Regions from separate parts of the Homo sapiens genome. Here region 1 is linked to region 2. The links are contacts of gene promoters, found by promoter capture Hi-C in blood cells and fetal thymus (Javierre and others, 2016). All regions are on one chromosome and are shown on one strand. Each heading gives the region's core, a stretch centred on a gene start or on the middle of the fragment in contact. The rest is flanking DNA. Distances are from core to core; before and after follow the strand shown. Region 1 holds the start of OLIG3 (oligodendrocyte transcription factor 3). Region 2 holds the start of SLC35D3 (solute carrier family 35 member D3).

What was found. Contacts are between HindIII fragments. The CHiCAGO score rates a contact against its expected background, and 5 or more counts as called.
Region 1: the fragment with the promoter of OLIG3 here is called in contact with the fragment with the promoter of SLC35D3 in region 2 in 16 of 17 cell types (fetal thymus, M0 macrophages, total B cells and 13 more); the score reaches 24.3 in fetal thymus.

What each region holds. Positions count from the first base shown.
Region 1 is chr6:137,491,469-137,497,107 of GRCh38, forward strand. It overlaps OLIG3 (oligodendrocyte transcription factor 3), which reads right to left and starts at 2,926. Exons shown (of 1, transcript NM_175747.2): 1 at 731-2,926. The coding sequence starts at 2,702. The coding sequence ends at 1,884. RefSeq lists enhancers at 1,836-2,335, 4,017-4,550, 4,551-5,083. The HindIII fragment of the contact is 6,431 bases long and covers 1-5,481 here.
Region 2 is chr6:136,920,097-136,925,759 of GRCh38, forward strand. It overlaps SLC35D3 (solute carrier family 35 member D3), which reads left to right and starts at 2,205. Exons shown (of 2, transcript NM_001008783.3): 1 at 2,205-2,771; 2 at 3,789-5,564. The coding sequence starts at 2,333. The coding sequence ends at 4,600. RefSeq lists an enhancer at 1,227-1,733. The HindIII fragment of the contact is 1,879 bases long and covers 1,439-3,317 here.

The DNA.
Region 1 (5,639 bases), core at 1,676-4,175, 570 kb after region 2:
GGAGGTGAAAAGAGAAAAGTAGTTTATTAAAATGACTCCCGTTTTAGCTGACTTTTTTGTAGAAGATGCCCAATGTATATAGCTAATCAGACCAGCAATCTTCTAAGGGAAGAAAGAAGGGAGGATTCTCGCTATAAATCTGCAAGATTCTGAGACTTGGGTGGTGGTTTGACTCACCCGGAGCTCACCTTACAAAGCAGAGAAGCCTTCCCTTTCTCTGTAGGCCATGCTTCCGAGGGTGCAGGCAAGCAGGGTGAGTATTTGACTATTTTCTAAGACCACTCTTTGTTGACTTTTAAAATGTATACTAGATTTTAACATGGGGGGAAAAGCACAAGTTCAATTTAAAGTGAAAAGAAGTTAACGTACTGCTTCATCCTTGTTTGTTGCCAACACAGTCATCGTAGTGACACTCCACCTCTCATTTCCTGCCACTTTAAGTTTCCAGATTACTTTTTAAAATTCAATTCTCGAGTTTATGAGGGTCTGATTACTGCAGAGAAATGAGCTCAAATAGCATAATACTATGAATGTGGGCAATGCCCGCTTGAAGGACATTTAGTTCCAAAAATCAGCACCAATTTACCCATCCTGTTTACTTGTACGTAATCACGGAAAACCTTCACATCTGCCCACCCATCCAAATTCCTCACCCAGATACACCTTACCTGGTCCACGTGTTTCCTATCCCACTACCCCCATCTGCTAAGATTTTAGGCAAAGGCAAAGCCACGATTTAAAGGTTCTTTTTTATTTGAAATCTCATCCAGAAACACTGGTTATTAATAAATATATCATAGTTATCAAGAATATATAAAAAATAAAGACAGGTATCGTCTTTGAGGCCCTAACAAAATATTTCAAGCAAATGTTCAGGAAAATAAAAACGGCACCCCTCCCAAAACCAGGATAAGTTTTCAAAGCTGATAATAGAGAGAGCCAACCCCGCATGCAGAATAACTGAGCGAGGGGGGGTGGCGCAAGCTACTAGAGGGAGCCCAGGCTTTTACAATAGCGGCCCCAGAACAGCAAAGGAAGGTTCCGAATAAAGTTTGAAGGGGGTGGGGGTGGGAGAAGAAGCGCGTGTGCGTGAGTGTGGGTCTTTGCACTCTGCCCCTTTTTTCATTTCATACAACCACAGACAGATATATGGAGTACTTGGGATAATTCACTAATAAATCCTTGTTACAAGGAAAACGGCACCACAGCCTGCACGACATATTCAGACAAGATTCATTTAGAAGCGTGCATGCATTCTTTTGACCTACACTGCGTCGAAAGGAAAACCCACATAGGAGGTGTCATGCCCTGGACCTCGGTTGAGATTCAAAACTTGGGTCTTGATCTCTCTCGCGCTCTCTCTCTCTTTCTCTCTCCATTGTCTCTAGAAAAACTGTGGCAAGGACAGAGACAATCATAATCGCATCCATCTCAAGAAAATATTTACATTTGTTTTGCACAAAAGGGATGGCCGTCTTTTTCCAAAGCGAGAACACAGAGTCAGAGAAAGCCAACTCAAAAGTCCCTTCGCAAGTTTTTAACTACACCGATCCCATCTTTATACAACAAATGCAGTTTTGACAAGAGCATATGGCAGTGAAAAATACTGGCGCGGCATGGGGAAAAGAAGCATGCATGCAAAACACACGACATCTGGTTCGAGTCCCCCTTTGCTACCACCTAGAAATTGCGGTTTGATTTTGGTCCTTTCCCTCCGGGGGTCAAGTGGAGTCTGAGATCTCTCAGACAGCGTGGGAGGCTGCGGGCCCCGGAGCCTGCCCTCCCGTGGGCCGAGCGTGCAGCCTCCCTCTTCCCTCCCGGCCCGGCACCGCGGCCCCTCCCGCCGCTCTCCCTCCTCCTTGGCAGCCGGGCCCGCCCGCTGCTCACTTGAGCAAGTCCTTGGACTCGGCCGACAGCCGGGCCATGTTGGCTGTGGAGAGAGCGGACAGGTGCGGCGGCGGCGGCATCTGGCAGATGGTGCAGGGGCAGGGCAGACCAGCCCAGTGCTGGAAGCCGCTGCCCAGCTGCAGCGCGGGCGGCGTGGAGGGCGCCTTGAGTAGCGAGTGGGGAGGCCGGATGGTGCCGATGGCGGGAAGTGAGGCGGCGGACAGCGGTGACGAGGCGTTGCCAGATGAGAGCGCGCCGCCCAAGATGGGGTGCACCGGGTGCACGGAGTTGGCCGCGTGCGCGGGGTGGCCGGCCGAGTGGCCCACGGTCCCGCAGTGAAAGGCCGAGTGGTGGCCCCCATAGATCTCGCCAACCAGCCTCTTCATCTCCTCCAGGGAGCTGGTGAGCATGAGGATGTAGTTTCTGGCGAGCAGGAGTGTGGCGATCTTGGAGAGCTTGCGCACCGACGGCCCATGCGCGTAGGGCATGACTTCGCGCAGCCCGTCCATGGCTAGGTTCAGGTCGTGCATCCGCTTGCGTTCGCGTCCGTTGATCTTCAGCCTCAACTGCTGTAGGTCCTGCTCCGACAGCTGCTTCTTGATTTTGTACTTGCTGCTCTCTCCCGCGGCCTTGGCGCCAGCCCGCGAGAGGCTTTCCCCGGGCATCTTCTGCATCATATCGCCCTGCGTGGACGAGACCGAGTTGAGACGGCTCTCCTGGTGGTGGTGGTGGCGGTGGTGGTGGTCCCTCAGGTACATCTCATCCATGTCCGGAGATGAAGCTCTGCTGGAGACAGAGCTCGAATCAGAATTCATTTTATTACAGGGGATGCGGCCCTACCGTGGGGAGGCTTTAGGCGGGAAATTAAAGAAAATCTTGAATTAAAAAAAAAAAATCTGCACTGCCCAGGAACCCACTTCTCCGCGGCAAGACGTGAGAAGAAAAGCGGAGACGCTGCTTTTCCCCGCCTCTCTCCCTCCCACGCCCCTCTCTCTGGTTAGGCTGCTTCCTGGACAGCTAGTTGGTGTGTGCTTGAACTAACCTCACGCTGAAAAAGAGGGGCTTTTATAGAGCTGCGGCGGAGAAAAGAGACAAAAGGAGCCCTCCTATCTATCCTGGGCTGGTTAGGATGACGTGCCATCATTCAGGGCGGTGCGCTTTGCTGTCCCATTTAGCAAGGATTCCTATTCATATTCATTGTGGGGCCGCCCTGGGACACCTCTGCTCCGAACCGCTAGGAGCCCCCAGGCACAAAACCCTCTGATTGACACACTCACCGCTCCAGCTTACGCCTTCCTGATTTTTTTTTTAACTTTCTTCCACCCCACCCCCCTTCCCAATTTCTCTAACCAAATCACACATCAGGAACGGAAGGAAGGCAAGAGAAGGTGGCCAGGCGGTTGGTGGAGGTTCCTCTGAGTTTGGAGAGAGGAATTGAAACATTCGCTCTCCTTTCTTTCCTGGCTGCTCCCAAGTTTAGAGAAATATGGGCAAAAATAGGTCTCAGTGGAAAGGTTTGAGGGACAGAGGTGCGGTCGGAGGGAAGGTGCTGCCAGCGGGGGCTGGGGGTGGTGGGAAGACTGCATGCCGACTTTCTCTGTCTCAATATTTTTTTTTCATTAGATCTCTTTTCCTAAACACTTCCATTCTGTCAATTTTGTTTATTGGGCCCTTCTGGTGTGGTTTCAACGGGATGTCCATGTTCGGTGATGGCTTTGCTCCTGGCAGTATTGTGGCGGAGAGGTCTCTTATTTTCTGTGTCCTCTCTTTCGTTTTAAAACATGGATTTCTAAAAGAATTTCAGTTTTGCACAATTCTTTAACTTCCTAGACCAAAAACTGCGAAAAAAAAATGTTAATGTCACAAGAAAAGCAACTTGGGAGGATGGGAAGGAAAAGGAGCCAAGGAGGCAGAGAGAGAGATTGTTAGGTTCCTGAGAGCTCCAGAGAGATTGTTCCCACTCCAGGCTTCCTGGACCTTGGCGCTGGCGCAAAACGGTGGGACGGTCCGCGCCCGAAGCTCCGCCGGGCCTCCTCTGGCCGCTGTGCTGACGTGCCCCGAGCTCCGGGAACTCAGCGGCACCCCGGCCTGCGCGGGTGGGTCCACCAGGCTGGGGCCGCCGTACGGCGTCGGACAGGGAAATCAGAAGCTCATAATAAACTATCTGATGTCGGGGTGGTGGGGCGGGGGGGTGGGGTGCGTGGGCAAAGAAGCACGGGGGAAGGGAAACAACGAAAGGACCTAGAAAGCCCCTTGTGCGTGCCCGGGCACTGCGGTTCAGCGCAGAGTCGTTTCTGGGAATAAAGAGGAGGTCGGAGTTTGGAGCCTTCGGTGCGAGTGCGGAGGTGGGCGTAGATCTTTCTTCCCCCTTGCTGTGTTTTTGTGATCAAGACTTTAGCTCAGCAGCACGAGGGGCGGGAAGGCAGAAATCCCGGGAAGGGAGAGAGCCCCAGGAGTGGTCTCTAGAAGAACCCGGACACCGCCCCTCTCCCGGCTTGGTGGAACGGGAAACAAACGCTAGCTAGTGACTGAGAGTCTCGGTGGAAGTGTGAAATCGAATCAATCGCGGAACCTCGGGCACTTGGGGCCTCTTGCGCCGCTGAGTCACTTCGAAGAACAGGATGCCCCCCTTTCCCTTGACTCAAACCGAGCGGTCAGTGGGAGAGGGATGCGCGCCCAGGTCCGGAGTTTGCACGCTCTGAGGCTGTGCCCCACTGACAGTCACGCTGCGAAGGCAGCTCTGGCCAATACCAGAAGGATGGGCAAACGCAACATTGGCATGGATGCTTTTGCTACACCGAATTTTGTTTTTCTGTAATGGGGGAAAAATGGCCAACAGCCCTTCGTCAAGGCCAGGAAGTTAGTGCTCTTGCAGATTGGACAGGAGCCTCTTCTACCACCTTCATCTCGGTGGAAGGAAAGTTTCTTAATTCAAGAGGTTAGATTGGATGTGGAAAGACTAATGTCCAAAAGCATTCCTAATACCAAGCATAAAGAATGTTTCTTAATTCACCAGACTCGCCAATAAGATAGTGACATACACTAAGTCTTCCTGGTTATTTAAAAAAGGAGGGGAGGGGGGAAGTGCTCCAGAACTTGTGCAGTCCCAGGTGATGGGAGGAAGCTAGTGGCTAGTCCTAACGACAACCCTCTGCGACTCCCCTGCTGATCAAATGGGGTGAGGAGAGAGAGGCGGACGGGGGAGGGCATTGGGAGCGAGCACTGGACTGGACGAAGAGCAGCTTCCCCGCCCTGCGGACGGTGCACAGGTCTGGCCCCCGCCGTCCTCCTGAGCCACCTCCCTGACCCTAGGTCGTCGGCGGCGTCTGTCCTTCCCACACCCAGACTGAAAACGCTGCACCTGAGTTTTGATTTGGGGAAGTAGAATTGTCTGGTCAGAGCAGAAGGGTTGCAAATGAAGGAGTGGAAAAATCATGTTGCTACAAGATATTTTACCCTTTAAAAAAAGTCTTGATTTTCCCAGTGGACAATGTAAAATAAAGTTTTAAAATCTCCCCCAAATTAGTAACGAAGGTGGCAAGCCGTGGGCGGGGGGAGGGGAGGGAAGGAGGGTAGAGCAGCCCTCGAAATACAAGCTTGCGGGGCTGGAAGTCCGGGGCCAGGGTTCTGGGAGTCCAAACCAGAAGCCACTCTCCTTCAGCACAGCCTTTCAGCCGAGAGGGGGCTGACGCCTGCCGCAGCCGGTTCCGAGGGGGCTGCGATGGGCCGGGAAGGGGCGACTGGGCCTTTGC
Region 2 (5,663 bases), core at 955-3,454:
CACTTCTTTATATTAATAATATGCACTTAGGATGGCTTAAAGCAGCCATGCTTTTATTGGGATAGTCTCTAGAAGCAGAAATCTGTTATTTGCTGATATCTGTAAAAAGTTAATTTTCAGAGTTTTGAATCAATATATTTTGACTATACCACACACATACACATAATTTGAACTGGTGCTTCAGACTTCATTATTTCCTAAATAACATTAACTCTACAAAAACAGAGTCACTTAAACAGCCAATAGTGTGTAACCACAAGTTTTAGCAACAAAAACCAAGGGCTCCCCAGAGAACCGGAAGCACGTGTTTCAGTATAATGCTTTCCAGCTATTCCTGGAAAGTTGGCACCCTGGGCCATTCACAAACTTTTTTTGAGTGCCCACCTGTCGGGAGCAGGGACGTGGCCCTCCTAGGCACCGGGCACATAAGCTGGTGGACTGGTTGACCCCGAGCTCTCTAGAGCTCACCAAAGTGAGCATCCAGAGCCCCAAATGCTGGCCCAAATGAAGGGCTGCTGTGATGCTGCTGATCCCTGCTGTAATTTTTTTTTCTTCCTCTGTTGCGGTAAATCACGACTTCAGCACTTTGGCTGAAGTGTCGCGTTCAGCACAGAGGTGGAAGTAAGAGGCAGAAAACAGAAGAACCACGAGAGAAATGGATCCTGTCTATTAAGGCAACGTGATGCAGCGCTAAAAGGTTAGGAGGTTACGATTCCCGGGGCTAAGAGAAATAAACTGCTGGTGGTGAACGAAAGGGGTGCTGGAGCGCAGCGATCTCGAACCTTTCCCTTATAGCCAAACCCTGGCCAAGGCCACAAATTTCAAATCGCCTGAAAACCAAACTGTCTGGCGCTTAACGGTTACCTCGGCTGAGCGAAACCCTTGGCTGCTGCTGATTTAACTACAGGTCCGCGCGAGTTACTTTCCAGGGAACTGAATTCAGAACAAAGAGTTACCGAAGCCTTACTCCCTCTCCAAAATTAGAATTCCCTTTTTCTCTTAGTCATATAGGAAACACACAGTTCACAAGTCCTGTGGTGCAAAGGTGTGAACCCTGGCCCAGGGAGGTGGTGACTCTCCCCGCCCTCCGCCTGCCGGTTGTCCTGCTTCCGAAAGCAACCCACGACGGTCCCGCAGGGTGAGGGTTCCCTGGGATCAGTTCCCTGGGATCCGGAGAACGCCACGCGGAGTCTCCCTGCAGGGTGAGGGGCCCCGGGTTCCCGCCCCCTCCCCCTCTACTCTCCCATTCTGCGAGCGCAGCCAGCCTCCCCTCCCACGCTTCGGGAAGCGTCGCCCCCGAGCTCCTCGGTTCCTGGTGGTGGCTACTCGTGTTAGTGACTTCGTTTCTGCGCGTTTGCTTATTTTCATCTTTGCCTCAGTTCGAATGTGTCCCCGCCACCAGGCCCCGCTGCTGGGCGAGACCACTGAACCCCCTGAAAGCTTCCCCGGAGCCGCGCGCATAATCCCGGGACCCTCTCTGGAAGGCGTGCGGAGAGCGGTGCGCGTGGCCTGGCACCGGAAGGAGCCAGCTTCCGGGCTCCGAGGCACCCCCTGGACAGCGCCCCGGGCCGCGGGTTCCTCCTCCGATGCCCGGGCGTCGTCGCCGGGATCGGGAGCTTCGGGGGCCCGCCGGCACCGACGGTTTTCGCTTCCCTGGCGGGCAGCTGGACGAGGTCCCGCCGCTGCACCGGGAGGGACAGTGGGTGGAAAAAGCCGCTGCAGCGCCGGGGCGAGGGGGCTGGGGGCGCCGTCACTTGTTGCGACCAATAAACGGCGCTCGATCCTGATGCGCTGTTTCTAAAATCTTTAGCTGTGTCCCGATCCCTCCAACCCAAGCCCCTCGGCCAGGAGGAAGGGGCAAGCGAGAGCCGCTGGCTCTGTGGGGGGAGAGGGGCGCCGCGCCCCAAGAGCCCCCGTCCCGCCCTGCGGCAGCCGCCCCGGGGCGCCCAGCCGCCCGCTTCCCTCCGCAGAGCGTCTTCCCTGACGGTGAAACCGCGCGGGACACAACCCACCGCGGCTCATCACCCACTTACAAATAGCTGTCGCTAGGATTCCCGCCACTCCTCTCAGACCGGCCCCCCCGCCACCTCTGCCACTTTTCGGAGTCCCCCGCCCTCGTCACTGCCTCCCCGGAGCTGCGGGGCAGTCGGACGCAGAGCTGCCTAACCGCAAGAACGCCTGGCCGGAGCTGCCCTCTGCAGCCGAGCCGGCGCCCCCTGCCCTTCGCCGCCGCGCTGGGCGGGCGCCCCCGCCGCCCTCACTCCGCTGCTCCCGGCTCCTCGCGCGCAGGTCGCGGAGCTCCGCCACCGCTGGGTGCGGCGAGGCCGGCGCGATGCGGCAGCTGTGCCGGGGCCGCGTGCTGGGCATCTCGGTGGCCATCGCGCACGGGGTCTTCTCGGGCTCCCTCAACATCTTGCTCAAGTTCCTCATCAGCCGCTACCAGTTCTCCTTCCTGACCCTGGTGCAGTGCCTGACCAGCTCCACCGCGGCGCTGAGCCTGGAGCTGCTGCGGCGCCTCGGGCTCATCGCCGTGCCCCCCTTCGGTCTGAGCCTGGCGCGCTCCTTCGCGGGGGTCGCGGTGCTCTCCACGCTGCAGTCCAGCCTCACGCTCTGGTCCCTGCGCGGCCTCAGCCTGCCCATGTACGTGGTCTTCAAGCGCTGCCTGCCCCTGGTCACCATGCTCATCGGCGTCCTGGTGCTCAAGAACGGCGCGCCCTCGCCAGGGGTGCTGGCGGCGGTGCTCATCACCACCTGCGGCGCCGCCCTGGCAGGTGAGCGGGCCCCCGCGCCGACCCCCAGCCGACCCCACCCACCCCGCTCCGTCGGGCAGAGACCGCGGGGATCACTGAGTTCAACGACCTCACTTCCAGATGGGGAGACTGAGGCAGAGAGAGCCGGAGAGCTTTGAGAGTGGTCGCTCAGCTCGCAAAAGGGACTTCCGAGACCCAGAGAGCTCCCCAGCGCCCCACCAAGTCCCCCTGCCCCCTAATGTCCTGGCTTCCGACCCTCGCCCATGCTTCACCCGGCATCGCCCTTCCTGTCGCCCCCTCTCCTGGTCTTCCCCTGTCACCCCATTCTCCGGGAGAGGTGGGAGGGCCGCCTGAGCCTGGGAGCTGGAGTCCTCCAAGCCTGGACCAAGCCGGAAGGAGGGGGCCGTGAACTTCCTTGGGTCACGAGGGGCTGGAATGGAGGTGGGGGATGGGGGCGAAGCTGAGGGTTCCCGGGGCTACTGCGGGGTGTCTCGTGCTGCGCAGGGGGCTGCGGCCCTGGGGCAGACGACCCAGGTGCTGAGCGAGACGAGAGCCTGGGCAGGGGGAAGCTTCACTGGGGGCCAGAACAGGCGTTCTCCCCCGCGCCTGGCCCGCTCCGGGTTGCAGGCCACTGGCTGGGGCTCCCTCTCCCTTTGGTGCCCCACGGGGCAGGGGCTCCGGGGTGCAGGTACCACGCGCCCAAGTGACCTCGGTGCCAGCTCGGGGAAGCCACAGCACCTGCCCCGAGGGCATCTGCGCTCTCCGGGGCCTTTGTCTTGGACAGAGGAAGATGGAGTGACCCGGGGATATGGCGGGAAGGCGCTCTGAGCACTGAGTTTGGCTGTCGCATTTGACACGGGTGGCCGAGGGACGGCGGGCGTCTGTCACTCAGGAATCCGGTGGGCAGAGCTGGGGCGCGAACCCAGTCTCCTTTCCTACCCGACGCGTTTTCCCCGTGGGTCCCCGCCCACGCCAACCTGCTGTCTTCTCTCTTTTTCCTTCCCGCCCGGGCTCGGCCGTCCTCCTCGTGCGCCGCAGGAGCCGGCGACCTGACGGGCGACCCCATCGGGTACGTCACGGGAGTGCTGGCGGTGCTGGTGCACGCTGCCTACCTGGTGCTCATCCAGAAGGCCAGCGCAGACACCGAGCACGGGCCGCTCACCGCGCAGTACGTCATCGCCGTCTCTGCCACCCCGCTGCTGGTCATCTGCTCCTTCGCCAGCACCGACTCCATCCACGCCTGGACCTTCCCGGGCTGGAAGGACCCGGCCATGGTCTGCATCTTCGTGGCCTGCATCCTGATCGGCTGCGCCATGAACTTCACCACGCTGCACTGCACCTACATCAATTCGGCCGTGACCACCAGCTTCGTGGGTGTGGTGAAGAGCATCGCCACCATCACGGTGGGCATGGTGGCCTTCAGCGACGTGGAGCCCACCTCTCTGTTCATTGCCGGCGTGGTGGTGAACACCCTGGGCTCTATCATTTACTGTGTGGCCAAGTTCATGGAGACCAGAAAGCAAAGCAACTACGAGGACCTGGAGGCCCAGCCTCGGGGAGAGGAGGCGCAGCTAAGTGGAGACCAGCTGCCGTTCGTGATGGAGGAGCTGCCCGGGGAGGGAGGAAATGGCCGGTCAGAAGGTGGGGAGGCAGCAGGTGGCCCCGCTCAGGAGAGCAGGCAAGAGGTCAGGGGCAGCCCCCGAGGAGTCCCGCTGGTGGCTGGGAGCTCTGAAGAAGGGAGCAGGAGGTCGTTAAAAGATGCTTACCTCGAGGTATGGAGGTTGGTTAGGGGAACCAGGTATATGAAGAAGGATTATTTGATAGAAAACGAGGAGTTACCCAGTCCTTGAGAAGGAGGTGCATGTACGTACCTATGTGCATACACTTATTTTATATGTTAGAAATGACGTGTTTTAATGAGAGGCCTCCCCGTTTTATTCTTTGAGGAGTGGGGAAGGGAAGAAAAGAAAGAAGCTGAAAGGTACTGACACAGAGCAACAAAATTAGCACCTGTGTGAATTATTTAGTGTGACTTCACCTGAGGCATCACAGAGACAAAAGAATGTGAAGCTACTTAACAAAGTAAGGCAACGTTTCTGCTTCAGACTCCTGGCACATTTACTTTTTGTCATTATAACCATAACTAAATATCTGCATGTACCAAGAGTCCCTAAGCCACCCCCTCCAAAGATGGAGTGTAGAAATGATGACAGCACTTAGTAAGTTCAAAGATGACATTCAGGGATGCATTTTTTGATGATAGAACTACAGTTTTTATCGCCAGCTGGGCAAAGAGTATATTGCTGAAATGATATATAAATATATTGAATTGATGTTTACTGTTTATAGTCATCTGAAATATCATATTTACTCTGATTCTACTCACTTGTTTTTTAAAAATAAGTGTCCTATTATTGTATTATATATTGATAGAAACTGTTAAAGCTATTTTGAAAATATGAGTTCTTAGCTTTAATCATGAAGTCTGAAGTTTGCTTTCAGTAATTATTTTAAAAGTTGTTTTGGTTCATTGCTTTATAATATTTATTATTGAATGCCAAACCTGTTCTTTTTTTTACTGTGTCCAATATTCTTTCAAGCAAATGCAATGGCTGGAATATAATTCAGAATTAACTGAAACCCAGCCAGAAGAGGGACCACCTGTAAAGCAAGTCCTTTCAAGTTTCACTGCACATCCCAAACCATGTTACAAAAAGAGCAACTGCTATATTCACATTATGATATTTTTCTATCTTAAATTTGTCAAAATAAAGTATGAGTCTAACTATTAAAGGATACATTGTTAGAAATTTATTTTAGACACATGTTCTATTGTTGCTGTATAGTTGTTTGTGTTTGCCTCCAATGTGTGGTCATAGTATCCGAGTGTAGGGGCCGCACCATTGGAAACTT